Regions from separate parts of the Homo sapiens genome. Here all the other regions are linked to region 3. The links are contacts of gene promoters, found by promoter capture Hi-C in blood cells and fetal thymus (Javierre and others, 2016). All regions are on one chromosome and are shown on one strand. Each heading gives the region's core, a stretch centred on a gene start or on the middle of the fragment in contact. The rest is flanking DNA. Distances are from core to core; before and after follow the strand shown.

Region 1 (2,859 bases), core at 95-2,594, 190 kb before region 3:
ACTGCAACCTCTGCCTCCCAGATTTAAGTGATTCTCTTGCCTCAGCCTCCGGAGTAGCTGGGATTACAAATGCCCACCACCACCCCCGACTAATTTTTGGTAGAGATGTGGTTTCATCATGTTGGCCAGGCTGGTCTCGAACTCCTGACCTCAAGTGATCCACCCACCTTGGCATCCCAAAGTGCTAAGATTACAAGCATAAGCCACCACTTCTGGACTTCTGAGATCTTGAATGAGTAGATCAATTGCACTGTAAGGTTTCATTTTTCATCTATAAAAGAGGATAATAATGAGGTGGTACTACTGTATATTATATAAATTTGAATTATACAAACTTGAAAAATTGAAAATCTCCCTAAATTAAAAAAAATCATCAAGGGTTGCATAATTTCAAAATTGGTGGGCTGAGTGGATTGTAAACTATACTCATAACTATTGGTACATGATAGTGGCACTTGAGCTGGTGAAAGTAAATAACTGCCATCACTGCTCATAATTGTGTGAATCAGCTATTGTTTATGTGCATCATAAATTCTGACAGTGACATTTGTGACTAAGGTGCTGTTATTTTAACATTCAGCTTTATCATTTAAAATATTTCCTGTATTCTACAATGATGTCATCTCAGAGTTCATTCATTAAGTCATGGCACTAGTGCTAAAAACACCCTCCAAAATCAATAACTTTGTAATGAAAGTTAGATATGATAAGACACTATGAAAAAGCCCAAATAGCTGTCCTGATATGCCAAGCAGTTAATTTAAGAGTGCCTACTCTGAGAAATATTAGAGATTTTTGTATTTAGAAAATAAACAATAGTTTGAAGACAAGAAATTCTACAATGGTTGAAGATTCTCTCCCTACCTTTTACAGTTATTATTCTGGAAAACTTAGTATCAAATTATCTAAATTTTGAATTATCTAATATATTCAGTAACATATCCTTTTCTTAAGTCATGATCTCTCTTAAATGAAATAACATAATCCATGTAAAATTCTTAACACAGTGCCTGACAGCATGGCAAATGGTTAATGCATGTTAGGTAGATACATGGCTAATGTGGTTATCAACCATGAGTCAAGACAATGTCCTAAGGGTTCATAGGGATGAGGCTGATTCTGACATAGCCTATGGCTCATGTTGGAAGCCTTCTGCTATCCAGAGAGAACTAAAGGTATTGATCTTTGAGAAACAGTGGCTGAACAAGTGTAAAGTGTAAACTTTGGAATCAAAGTTTAAGTCCCCACATCAGCTGTTTAAGAATCTGGAACCGGCCAGGCACAGTGACTCACACCTGTAATTCTAACACTTTGGGAGGCCAAGATGGGTGGATCACTTGAGGTCAGGAGTTTGAGACCAGCCTGGCCAACATGGTAAAACCCCATCTCTACTAAAAATACAAAAATTAGCTGGACACATGGTGGGTGCCTATAATTCCTGCTACTCAGGAAGCTGAGGCAGGAGAATCCCTTCAACCTGGGAAACAGAGGTTGCAGTGAGCCAAGATCGCACCATTGCACTCCAGTCTGGGCAACAGAGAGAGATTCTGTCTCAAAAAAAAAAAAAAAAAAGAATCTGGAACAGCAAAAACATCTCCCTGAAAAGGCAAGTGTCCATGGGGCTATGCAGGACAAGCCTTCAACAATGACACCAAGTGGCAGCAAAGACTCATTGCAATGGAACCCTAATCTCACCTTAAGGTTCTTCCCCAGACAAATCCACGTGTGGAGGGGTCTACAGTTGGGGACAGGAAACAGATCACTGAAAATGGATCTGTGGACATACAGGCCTTTGTCTACCCCAGAGTAGAATTGCAAGGCAGGGCAGAAAGGTGGGGGTTGTAAGGGTGTGTGTGTGTGTGTGTGTGTGTGTGTGTGTCTATGAGTGCATAGCCCTCTGTCCATCTTTCTCAAGGGAAATGGAAATGAAGATAATTTATTTATTTATTATTATAAATACTCAGGCAGCTCTGTATTTATAATAATTTATTCTACAACACAGGCAGCTGGAAGAGCCAGAGATTGTTAAATATGCCACAGAGATAGCAACAGAAGATTCAATTTATATGCAAACGACTTGAAACTTCATGTAACAAAGTGTTTCTAATATTATTATGATCTCGACAAAAGCCCTTGATTCTTTAGGGAAAAACAGAGTGGCAGGTTGCTGGGGAAAGTTGCTAATAGTTGTTTGCAACTATGTAAGACCACATATGGTATACTGGAAAAGTGGCCAGAATTATTCACATTTCGTTATATTAATGCCCTTAGCAGAATGACTTTGCAGGTCTTTTCTTTAACAGGTAGAGATTCTTTCCTTACCTTGAATCTAAACTGGTCTGGTGACTTGCTTTGGCTGCTAGAATGAGGCAGAAGTGATGTTCTAGTAGTTCCTAGCTTCGGATTCAAGAGGCCTTGCATGCATGCCTCTGCTTGCTTTCTTGGACTTTTGCAAACTTCGTATGAATAAGCCAGACTAGCTTCCTGGAAGACCAGAGATCACTTGGATCAGAATTGGTCATCTGGTTGATCCCAGCCAAAGTCTAAAACATGTGAAAGAGCCTATGCAAGCTCAGTGAAATCAAACCTCAACAAACCTTCAGCTAACCCCCAGCTGACTGTAGCAGGTACATAACTGAGGCTACCCTAGATTTGCCAAGCCCACACTGGGTCAATGACTCATTAGCAAAATAAATGTTCAGGCTGGGTGCAGTGGCTTATACCTGTAATCCCGGCACTTTGGGGGGCCAAGGAGGGCAGGTCACCTGAGGTCAGGAGTTCGAGACCAGCCTGGCCAACATAGTGAAACCTCGTTTCTACTAAAGATACAAAAATTAGCTAGGCATGGTGGCACAAGCC
Region 2 (2,733 bases), core at 91-2,590, 140 kb before region 3:
GAGGCCGAGGCGGGTGGATTACTTGAAACCAGGAGCTCGAGACCCTGACTCTACTAAAAATACAAAAATGAGCCGGTCGTGGTGGCGCGCGCCTGTAAATCTCAGCTACTCAGGAGGCTGAGGCACGAGAACAGCTTGAACCGGGAGGCGGAGGTTGCAGTGAGCCGATATCGCCACTGAACTCCAGTCAGGGCGACAGTGAAACTCTGTCAGAAAAACAAGAAACAAAAAAACTGTGAGGTACTGAGATCACAAACTGGTGCTCAAAATATACTGATTTCCTTTCTCGTCTGGACTAAACGGGGGTAGGGAAGGGTGAGAAGGAGGGGATCGGCCCTCCCAACAAGTCTCATCTTCCCCAGATGCTGCTTGGTGCTCAGGGGCTGCAAGTACTCTGTCCTTGCACAGAGGGTTGGGGACTCCAGCTGTGCATGGGGGCACACATTAGGCCCACAGCTTGTAATGGACCAGTAGTAAAGTAAGGGAGGGGAAGCAGACTCTCTCTTGGAAAGGAGGCTCCTGAGTCCTTCTTGGGGCTTCCCCCACCAACTGTTTCCCAAACCAGCATACAGTAGGCACTTAGTAAATACTAAACCTAGTAAAGGACTGAATGATGGTAGACCGAACCCCCAAAGCAAAAGAGAAAGGGTCCAACAGCGCCTCCTTGCGGTGCTCTGCCCCAAGCCACGGGGAGAAACGTTGCAGCCCGCGCCGAACGCCGGGCAGCACAAAGGATCCCCGACTGCCGGGGAGCGGTGCTCGGAGGGCACAGGTCTACGCCATCCCCCACGCAGTTTCGGAGATGGAGCGCTGGGCCCATGGAGGGAAGGCGGCAGGCTCGGCGGCTCCGGCAGCTTGCTGGGGCAGGGGCTCAAGGCGGCAGTCCGATAGTGGAGGCCGCTGAGAACTGTCACGGAGCTGCGTCTGTACAGCGAGCATCCCTTATTTATTCAGGGCGAGTGTGTATTTGGGGCGGCGTGCAGGGGGCTGACAAAGACCGGAGAGCTCCCGGTGCGGCCGCCGGCGGAGCGAAGACTGGAACCCGTATGAGCGCCCCCCAGCGCCCCTGAGCGCTCGCCGCCGGTGCACGGCGCACCCCGCGGGAGGCAGGGATCAGCAAAGCCGTGCGCCCCGAGGCCCGCCCCCGTCTCCGCACAAAGACCGTGAGTCCCGGGTCCGAGCCTTCCGCGCGGGGATCGGGCGGTTGTCCGGCGGGTCGTCCTTCGACGGCCTCCTGGCCTCGCCGGAGCGGGTGCGGGGAGGCCCACGCAGCGACGGCTGGAGGAGGGGTGGGCGGGGCTGCCGGGGGTGGGGTCCCCGGGGCGGGGCGGGGCGCGCTGTGTCGCGGGTCGGAGCTCGGTCCTGCTGGAGGCCACGGGTGCCACACACTCGGTCCCGACATGATGGCGAGCATGCGAGTGGTGAAGGTAACCGCGTATAGGATGACCCCTTTCTCTTGGCTCCCCTCGCCTCCCGCATTCCCTCCTCCCTCCATCCCCTCCGCGGCTCTCCGAGCACATTTATTTATTTGTCTGGGCACCAGGGCTGGCTGAATCCCTGTCCTCCCCGCCCTCTACTCAGAGGAGGACTGGCCTGCAAGAGTGGCCAGAGCTGGGGTTTTGGGGGTTTGGAGGCCTCTGCTTGAGCCGTTCGCGTGGTGAAGATGAGCCGGCTCCCCCAAAACTGGTTTCAATTTCGCTTTTCCTGCCTGAAACTTGTGATAACAACTGGGTGCATCTCCAGTGCAGGAAAAGTCCTTGGCATCTTGGTGCCAGGCATTCTGCTACTGCTGGTGGTGGGTTATGAACACAGATGACCAGGATGAAGTCCTTGCCTTGGAATAAGCCCATAGCCCATCCCATAATTTGATGCCTGTATTACTAGAGTCCTGAGAAACACGGAATGCTGATTAGAATTTGGGACAAAGTTCCCTGAGTATTCTCTGGAGGAAAAGATGCGGAGGTGGACCTGGAAGGCCTCCTGGAGTAGGTGGCTTGCGTTCGTGAGTTCTACAAGTGTTGAATGCCTACATGTGCTGGCCCTGTTCTAGGAGGGGGGGGGGGGCGGGCAGAGATGAACACAAATCCGGCCCTTGTTGAATTTTGTTCCTATCAGGGACACAATTTGAAATAAGATCTGGAAGGATGGGGAGGGGGCAGTTTCCTCCAGAAGGTGGGAAAACCCAGGGTGTTTGGAGATGGATTAGGGAGGAAGGTGATCCTGGTGAAGTGAGTCTGGCACCCCAAGTCTTTCAGAAGTGCCCCTTCCAGTCTGCAGGGTGGAGGGGCAGGCTCTAGGAAGAGGGTGCCTGCTACCCTCAGCCTCTGAGAAGAAAATGGCCTCAGACTGGGATGCCCAGAGCAGGCTTGGCCTAGATACTAAATCTGGAGGTTGGCAGCAAAATGAGGCAGAGGGTCTTTCCAGCCAAGTGGAAGAGAGATGGGAGCCAGAATTTATTGCATTGGAACCATTACATGCCAAACGGTTTACATGGTTATTTCATCTAATTCGCACAGCAGTTCTGTGAGATAAGTAATATATACCCGCATTTTACAAATGAGGAAATTGAGGCACAGAGGAAATAACTTGCTTGTCCAGAGTCTTTCAGTAAGGAGCAATGGGACTGGAATATGAAACCAGGTCCACAGGCCTCCAGCCTGCAGGCTCTCTTAATGGCCTTTCTACTTTCATTTTCTGTTCCTCTGAGTCAGGTGATTTCCTAGTAGGCAGTAG
Region 3 (2,700 bases), core at 87-2,586:
AAGGTACTGCAGCTTTGTAGAATGACCGTGGGCAAGTTCCTTTGAAATTCCTCCCCAGAGCTGCTTCTCTGGCTCTGTCTACATAACTGCAGACTAGAAAATCTACTACCCTACAATCTGCCTATAGCACCTGCGCCATGCAGGGACCTCATACACCCATCTTATACTTCTTTTATGACAATTCCTATAATTAAGGTACTATTGTCCTCGTCTTACAGGTGGGGCAGCCAAAGAGCTTGCCTCAGGTTGTATAACTAGTGAGTAGCTTGGGGTACAGGACCCCAGCCACCCTTCCTCCATTCAGTCAAGTCACTAGGGTGGTTGCAGACTTTTATCTTTTGTGCTTTGGTGGTGAGCTGGAAAATCCTCAGTTCTGGCTGTCCCCTATCGTAACCTCTATTTCTTCCTCTTAAAAAAAAGAGGAGTGGGCTTGGAATAGCTGGAGTTCCTGGGCCCTCAGGGGATCCAGGTAGCTGGGGTTGGGAGTCTGCAGACTGCATCTAATACGCAAGAAGCTCTCCCCAAACTGAGCTTTTGGCAAGGAAACGGCCACACAGGCCAAAGAAGACGTCAGCTCACGTGCTCTGGGCTGGAAGGATAGTAAGGCAGCTGCTTAGTAAGGCCTCACGCTGATCACAAGCTCCGATGAGCAATTATATATGTCTTTGATTAATAAAAAATGGGGCAATGAATGGTTAATCAATGCAGTCTGGCGGGAAGGCTCTTTCAGAACCTGGGGGGCGGGGGTGAGGCAGGGAGTCATCTAAGGGGTTTTTGGGAGTGAAAATATGGGGCAGTCCTCCAGGGGATGGTTTCTGAAAAGCCCTCAGTCCTGGTTCTTGGCTTCCTGATTCTGTGGTTGGGATTTTTTTGGCAGCTCTGGGAGTGTGAAACTGGGAGAGACGGTTAAGCTGGTGAGCAAATAGGAAAAATATGTTCCCTGCCAACCCAGCGGTCAAGGCAAAATGCACAAATAGAGTGTGTGTGTCCCTATGCCCTCATGTGCTGTCTGTGTGTCCTCTGGGTGCTGGGTGTGACATTTTCCCTAGGTGGGCCTGAGCGAGTAACAGCATTCAACTAACTTGGTTAGGGGAGGCAGAGGCAAGGGGGCTGGGAGGCTGAAAGGCAGCGAGGAGGGAGGGAAAGACACCGCTGGGGTTCTAGGGGGTTCTAGAGGGAGAAGTTTCAAGAGGGAGAGGTAAAAAGGGCGCGGGAGGCTGTGAGCAAGGGAAAAGAAGAAGGAAGTGATGGAGAGTGGGAGGTCTGCCCCAGCCCCTTCCGGGCGGGCAGGAGGGGGCGGAGGCGAGCAGGGGACTGGGAGGGGCTGCGAGAGGCGCGAATGCGAACCTGGCCCGTGCGGAAAGGGCGCGGAGAGCCCCGGCGCGGAGCAGGCGGGTAGGGCGAAGGGTCCCCTTTCGGGCGCCATGGGGCGCCGAGCGCGGCCTGGCCCCTCGGGCTCCTCTGCGGGGAGGGCAGGCCGCAGGCTGGAGCGGGGTGCGGAGGCTGGCGGGGAGCGGCCCCCGGAGGCTTTCCTGGTAGAAGTTGATGCGAGGAAGGGCGGCGGGGACCAGGTTTGCGAGTCCTAGGCGAGGGTCATGGGAGTTGGGGGTATTTCTGGCAGTAGAATGGCCTGCGTCGTGACTAAACTAGCCCTGTGACCTTGGGCAAGTTCCTGAAATCCATGGGAGCTTTTGTTTCATTGTCAGTAAACTGAAGATAACACCAACTTGGCAGCGGGAGTTTGTGTCTTCTGTATGAAATCTCCCTGCCTCTGCACCTGGTTGAGTTGCTGTCATTATTTTAGGGGACGGTATTCAGAATTCGAGCGCAGGAGCTCCGCTTCTCCACCTGCTCCCGGGGAGCTATTGGGTAAGTCGTTTATCTCACCTGTGACTCCAGGTGGCCATCAAGACCTGCCTCTCTACTTGCCACGTGGTTACTCAAATGCAGTGCCTAAGATGATGTATTGGAGTATTTATTCCCCACATTTGCTGCCAGCGGCCATGATCATCCTGCCTCTTAATGCACCTCACAAATAACTCTAGTCTACCTTTCCCTTTCCCGCAGGCCTCCTCTTCCAGCAGCCTCTATCTTTATTCTACAGGATCCAGAGAATCACCCGCTGATGGTTTTTGCCCAGGCCTGAAACAACCAGAGAGCTACGGGAAAGGAAGGGCTTGGCTTGCCAGAGGAATTTTCCAAGTGCTCAAACGCCAGGCTTACGGCGCCTGTGATCCGTCCAGGAGGACAAAGTGGGATTTGAAGATCCACTCCACTTCTGCTCATGGCGGGCCAGGGCCTGCCCCTGCACGTGGCCACACTGCTGACTGGGCTGCTGGAATGCCTGGGCTTTGCTGGCGTCCTCTTTGGCTGGCCTTCACTAGTGTTTGTCTTCAAGAATGAAGATTACTTTAAGGATCTGTGTGGACCAGATGCTGGGCCGATTGGCAATGCCACAGGGCAGGCTGGTAAGGGCAGGGATGACTTTTCTAAGGAAGTTAAGTCTGGCTCCCACGTGGTGGCAAGGAGCAGGAAGGACTCTGCCCCCTGCCCACCCCTCTTTCTATGATGAGAGGAAGGGTCAGCAGCTCTCACCCCACTTGATCTGGGAAGTGCCTGGGAGGGAGGCACCAGCTCCTGAGGGGTAATTAGGGGCAGCCACATTTCAACTCAGCTTAAGGGACAAGTTTGCGACCGACA
Region 4 (2,796 bases), core at 31-2,530, 160 kb before region 3:
TTGTTTCCAATTCTCCGTTGCCAGCTCTGTAGATGGAAGCGCTAGGTTTGGACTGTTGACTCAGCTGTGAATTTGGCTCCATTCAGATTGTGGCCCCTTGCTTTGACCTGCTGTTTCTGCTTCCATGCACCTCTCCTGAGGGTAAAAATGCCTGCTCCACTTCCAGAAAAGCCAAAATTCACCTTGCGTTCCTCAATGCCTGTTGAGAAACAGGGAGCCACCCTCCTTGTTCTGCCCAACTTGAACATGAAGCCCCATGGTCACTTCTCCAGTTACAGACTTTTCTTTTCTTTTCTTTTCTTTTTTTTGGAGACAGAGTCTTGCTCTGTTGCCCAGGCTGGAGTGCAGTGGCATGATCTCGGCTCACTGCAAGCTCCGCCTCCCAGGTTCACGCCATTCTCCTGCCTCAGCCTCACAAGTAGCTGGGACTACAGGTGTCTGCCACCACGCCCAGCTAATTTTTTTTTTTTTTTGTATATTTAGTAGAGATGGGGTTTCACGTGTTAGCAGAGATAGAAACCCTGTCTCTACTAAAAATACAAAATTAGCTGGGTGTGGTGGTGCATGCCTGTAATCCCAGCTACTTGAGAGGCTGAGGCGGGAGAATTACTTGAACCAGGGAGGTAGAGGTTGAGCCTGGGCAACAAGAGCAAAACTCTGTCTCAAAAACAACAACAACAAAAAATTGTGACGGCACCATGTTTAAGTTCTGATATTCAGTAGACCAAGTCCTCACATTTTATTCTTCTTCAAGAAGATCTCTGCTATTCTTGATCCCTGAATTTCCATATATACTTAGAATCAGCTTACCAGGCTCCACAAAATAAAAGGGAAAAATATGTTGGGATTTTGACTGGTATTACCTTACATCTATAGATCATTTTGGGAGTGAATTGACATCTTTATAACAGTAAGTCTTCTAATCCATGAACATGTTATAGCTTTCCAACTATTTGGCTCTTCCTTAATGTTTCTCTGCTGGGATTACAGGTGGGAGCCACCACGCCTGGCCTGTTTCTCAATATACTTGTTGATATGTTTAGGCTTTGTGTCCCCACCCAAATCTCATCTTGAATTGTAATCCTCATAAACCCCATGTGTCAAAGGAGAGACCAAGTGGAAGCAATTGAATCATGGGGGCAGTTTCCCACATGCTGTTCTCTTGATAGTGAGTGAGTTCTCACGAGATCTGATGGTTTTATAAGGGGCTCTTCCCTCTTTGCTCAGCACTTCTTCCTGCCACCTTGTGAAGAGGGTTTCTTGCTTCCCCTTCACCTTCTGCCATGATTGTAAGTCTCCTGAGGCCTCCCCAGCCATGCACAACTGTGAGTCAACTAAACCTCTTTCCTTTCGAAATTACCCAGTCTTGAGCAGTTCTTTATAGCAGTGTGAAAACAGACTAATACAGTTATATAGTTTGCTCTGAAGACGTATTCCACCTATTTCTGTTTATTTCCAGGATCTTGATTTTTTTTTTCTGCTATTGAACACAGTGCATGTTTTAGTTCAATCTATGTCATTAAAAAATCATTTTTGTGGCAGGGCACGGTGGCTCATGCCTGTAATCCCAGACCTTTGGGAGGCTGAGGCAGGCAGATCACGAGGTCAGGAGTTTGAGACTAGCCTGGCCAACATGGTGAAACCCTGTTTCTACTAAAAATACAAAAATTAGCCAGACATGGTGGTGTGTGCCTGTAATCCCAGCTACTCAGGAGGCTGAGGAAGGAGAATTGCTTGAACCTGGGAGGCAGAGGTTGCAGTGAGCTGAGATCATGCCACTGCACTCCAGCCTGGGCAACAGAGCAAGACTCTGTCTCGAAAAAAGAAACAATAATTTCTGGGCCTCATTTTCTCTCTCCTTTATGTAACAAGGCCTAGTTTTATCACTGGCCTAAAAGTCTTAGATTTTGTATTTACTTTTCAGTTCCAGGTTCCTTGAACTTGATTGGGTTTAGGTCTTTAATCTTGGGTCCTAATTTGAGCCCTTTATCTCCACCTCAGGTCACTATAGGAGGTGGTAGAAGTTGAAATAGCCTCTCACCCAGAGGGATTAGAGGAGCTTGATCTTTCCCTACATCCAGCCCATCATCAGACCTTTTGGTAGTATCTTCAAAATGTATCCTGAATCCACTCAGTTCTCTCAATCATTGAGGCCATGAACCCAATCTAGCCACAACCATCTCTCACCTGGGCCACTGAATAGCCTCCTGCCTGGTTTCCATGCTTCCACTCTGTCCTTTCCAGATATTCTTCAATCCACAGACAGAATGATAATAACTAATATAATATAATATAATACATGATAATCAATATAAATTGGTTTTCCATGGGAGACCTTTTTTTTTTTTTTTTTGAGACAGGGTCTCGCTCAATTGCCCAGGCTGGAGTGCGGTGGCACAATCTCAGCTCACTGCAACTTCTGCCTCCTGGGTTCAAGCGATTCTCATGCCTCAGCCTCCCAAGTAGCTGGGATTACAGGTGCCCACCACCATGCCAGGATAATTTTTTATTTTTTATTTTTATTTTTTAGTTGAGACGGGGTTGGCCAGGCTGGTCTCACACTCCTGACTTCAGGTGATCCACTCACCTCAGCCTCCCAAACTGCTGGGATTACAGGCGAGCTACCGCACCCAGCCAGGAGACCACTCTTATAAGAAGTCACTTATGAGCCTTTCTCTTCACTCTTGTAATAAAATCTAAACTTTTGACCCTGGCCTACAAGACTAGGTCCAAGCTGACCTCTGCCTCCCTGTCCAACCTCTGCTTGTATTACACAACTCCTCTTATTACATCTAG
Region 5 (2,894 bases), core at 31-2,530, 230 kb before region 3:
ATTTGCAAGAGATCAAAAAGAATGGGCTTTCCCAGTTTCTTACCACCTGAAAGCTTAAGTTACACTTTGACTTAGGGCCTAGTTCCAATCAAATAGACAAGGATAGCTGTACTGGAAGGAAAATGAGCTATCTCTGGAAAATGATTAGATATGAAATCTCATTCCAAGATTATCACCAGCCTCTAACTCCCCACAGTAAATCCAGCACTGACAGCAGATTTACCATCTACTTACCTAAGCGCAGAGGAAAGGTGAACTATCATAAGAACTCACAGCCGGGCACAGTGTCTCACACCTGTAATCCCAGCATTTTGGGAGGCCGAGGCAGGCAGATCATGAGGTCAGGAGTTTGAGACCAGCCTGGCCAACATAGTGAAACCCTGTCCCTACTAAAAGAAATACAAAAAATTAGCTGGGCGTGGTGGCGGGCACCTGTAACCCCAGCTATTTGGGAGGCTGAGGCAGGAGAATCACTTGAACCTGGGAGGCAGAGGTTGCAGTGAGCCAAGATCACGCCACTGCACTCCAGCCCAGGTGACAGTGTGAGACTCTTACAAAAACAACCACCACCACCACCAAAAAAAAAAACCTGACGTGGCTCACAGGTAGGTTTCTTGGTTTTCCCCTCCTCCAAGCATTTTAGCAATAAATCATTCCAATTATGTTTCTATAACGCTTAGGGGAAAAAAATAAATTATACCAACTTCTATGATATGGCAAAAATATTTATTAAAATGATTTTTTTTAAGTTTGAACTTTATTGGAAGGAGTCCCTCTAATTCACACTTTCATCCTAGATAAATGGGTAAGAACCACATATGGAATATAAAGCATTGATTTTTTAAAAACCACATAGTAGCACAGTGAAAGAAATGCAATTCTCCAGGGTCTTAGAGAATTCAAAGTGGCATCTTAGGTGGTCTAAGAAACCAATTACAGTCTCATGGTTTTCCTTTTGGTTCAAGATTAGAAGAGTCAGGTTACCACTACCTGTTTTTAGAGGTAGAATATGAACTTTCTACTAGTCCACAGTTTACTGGTCAGGTGGCCCCAACAGTCTTTTATCTCAGCCCATCTGCCTCTAGGGGTGGCCAGATGATCTCTATGTCCCAGGCAGCAAGGCTTCCTGCTGATCTCTACTTCAGATCCATGAACCGGATATCCATGATGAGAAGGAAGTTCTTAGGCAGTGGGCGAGGGGCTGGAGACAGAACAGTAAACACCTGATGCTCCAGGTCCACACTGGTCACCACAATGAAGCCAGCTACACTTGTCTCGGACAGGTTCTCCTCTGTACCCTCGGCAGTGCTAACACTCAGTAGGTGGTGCACCATATCTCGCCCAGGAGTGACAGGTACTAGCTTGAGCTGATTATCCTCTTGAGACATGCCCAAAGGTAAACAGGAGTCTGGGATGGTGGGTGCCCCAACTTTGTAGATTTTCACATCTGAAAATTTGACATTGAAGGCATGGGGATAGAAACAGCCTCGGAATCCATAAAAATACTCACGGATACGCTCATCCCTACATTCCCGCCGGAAGTCCTTGGAGCGCTCCACCACACCCCCAGATTTAGGGAGCAGCACAGTGCGTACAAAGTGGGGGAGGTCCCGTTTCAGTTCATTGTACAGTCGTTCTTGATCCAGAACAACAACGACATCCACCTCAAAAGCTGAGGCTGCATGCACCAGAGCCTGGTAACCAGAGCCCTTGACCCAGCCACAGGTGTTAATGACACAGCCACTCACAGATGCCCTTCGGTTCACCTCACACCTTTGGTTGAACACATCTGCTAAACGAGATGTAATCTGCAAAAGAGAGGATCAAGGTAAGAACAAAAACACCCAGACAAACCCATGGCTACTTTGTTCCTCTTTAGAATAAGTGCTATTAGATATAAGAAAAATGATTTTTTTTTTGAAATGGAGTCTCACTCTGTTGCCCAGGATGGAGTGCAGTGGCACGATCTCAGCTCACTGCAACCTCCACCTCCCGCGTTCAAGTGATTCTCCTGCCTCAGTCTCTGAACAGCTGGGATTACAGGCACCAGCCACCACGCCCAGCTACTTTTTGTATTTTTAGTAGAGACAAGGTTTCACCATGTTGGCCAGGCTGCTCTCCAACTCCTGACCTCAGGTGATCCACCCGTCTCAGCCTCCCAAGTTGTGGGATTACAGGCATGAGCCACTGTACCCAGCCTGAAAAAATGACATTTTTAATGGCTGTAGTTTTGATACCATAACATGGATTTAATTTTTATGTTGCTGCTTCTGCCTCCTGTTTTATGCCCTAAGTGAAAATCTAACAAATTACTAAGAATAGATCCACAGAAATGTTTAACAATCTGAGACTGACATATTTGGAATTGCCTTTCTAAAGTAATGCAGCAGAAATACCAGCTGAGAAAATGCAGTGTTAACTAGTAAACTTCTCCAGTTTCCTACCCTGATAGCAGCCCTTCCCTCCACCCCACCTTTCTCTGGCTCTGACCTTATTATAAAGCTTGATGTTAGTGCCAGGAGTGGTGGAACCAAAATGATACACCAGAGGGGCCTGGATAGAGAAACCCTCTTCGACATCTGCAGGCCGCTCGATGTAGAGGGCCCCCATGGTACCAGGGATGGACACAGAACCCTGGCCCACATCCAGCTCCACATAAGTGGGACGGCGGCCCAAACGCACTGCGTAGTTGAGCAGAAGGCGACACACTGTAGACTTGCCCACATCAGTGGGGCCCACTACCATCACTCGGGGACCTCGCTCTTCTTCCTTTTCCGCTTGCCTCCGCATCTGTTCCAAGGCTGTGTGAGTGTTGAGGTAAAGCAACATAGGAGTGTCCTTGGAGACATAAGCCACCTCAGTGCGGCCGCTCAGTTGCACAGAACAGCCATGCC

Evidence for each region. Contacts are between HindIII fragments. The CHiCAGO score rates a contact against its expected background, and 5 or more counts as called.
Region 1: a fragment that was not itself captured here is called in contact with the fragment with the promoter of SLC43A3 in region 3 in 2 of 17 cell types (neutrophils and monocytes); the score reaches 6.2 in neutrophils.
Region 2: the fragment with the promoter of UBE2L6 here is called in contact with the fragment with the promoter of SLC43A3 in region 3 in 1 of 17 cell types (neutrophils); the score reaches 7.0 in neutrophils.
Region 4: a fragment that was not itself captured here is called in contact with the fragment with the promoter of SLC43A3 in region 3 in 1 of 17 cell types (neutrophils); the score reaches 5.4 in neutrophils.
Region 5: a contact is called between a fragment that was not itself captured here and the fragment with the promoter of SLC43A3 in region 3, in 9 of 17 cell types (M1 macrophages, monocytes, activated CD4 T cells and 6 more). The highest score is 15.0, in M1 macrophages.

The regions. Positions count from the first base shown.
Region 1 is chr11:57,618,306-57,621,164 of GRCh38, reverse strand. No RefSeq gene overlaps it. Among named protein-coding and RNA genes, the nearest start is that of MIR130AHG, 19 kb to the left of the region's middle. The HindIII fragment of the contact is 3,483 bases long and covers 1-2,859 here.
Region 2 is chr11:57,566,279-57,569,011 of GRCh38, reverse strand. UBE2L6 (ubiquitin conjugating enzyme E2 L6) reads left to right here and starts at 1,340. Exons shown (of 4, transcript NM_004223.5): 1 at 1,340-1,427. The coding sequence starts at 1,401. RefSeq lists a silencer at 977-1,336 and an enhancer at 2,590-2,733. The HindIII fragment of the contact is 19,025 bases long and covers 1-2,733 here.
Region 3 is chr11:57,425,757-57,428,456 of GRCh38, reverse strand. SLC43A3 (solute carrier family 43 member 3) reads left to right here and starts at 1,336. Exons shown (of 14, transcript NM_199329.3): 1 at 1,336-1,395; 2 at 1,805-1,869; 3 at 2,105-2,468. The coding sequence starts at 2,285. RefSeq lists a silencer at 1,217-1,576 and enhancers at 1,819-2,611, 1,720-2,700, 2,612-2,700. The HindIII fragment of the contact is 9,438 bases long and covers 1-2,700 here.
Region 4 is chr11:57,588,466-57,591,261 of GRCh38, reverse strand. No RefSeq gene overlaps it. Among named protein-coding and RNA genes, the nearest start is that of SERPING1, 7.8 kb to the left of the region's middle. The HindIII fragment of the contact is 5,530 bases long and covers 1-2,796 here.
Region 5 is chr11:57,659,679-57,662,572 of GRCh38, reverse strand. CLP1 (cleavage factor polyribonucleotide kinase subunit 1) reads right to left here. Exons shown (of 3, transcript NM_006831.3): 2 at 2,491-2,894; 3 at 708-1,808. The coding sequence ends at 1,137. Among named protein-coding and RNA genes, the nearest start is that of CLP1, 3.4 kb to the right of the region's middle. The HindIII fragment of the contact is 2,449 bases long and covers 56-2,504 here.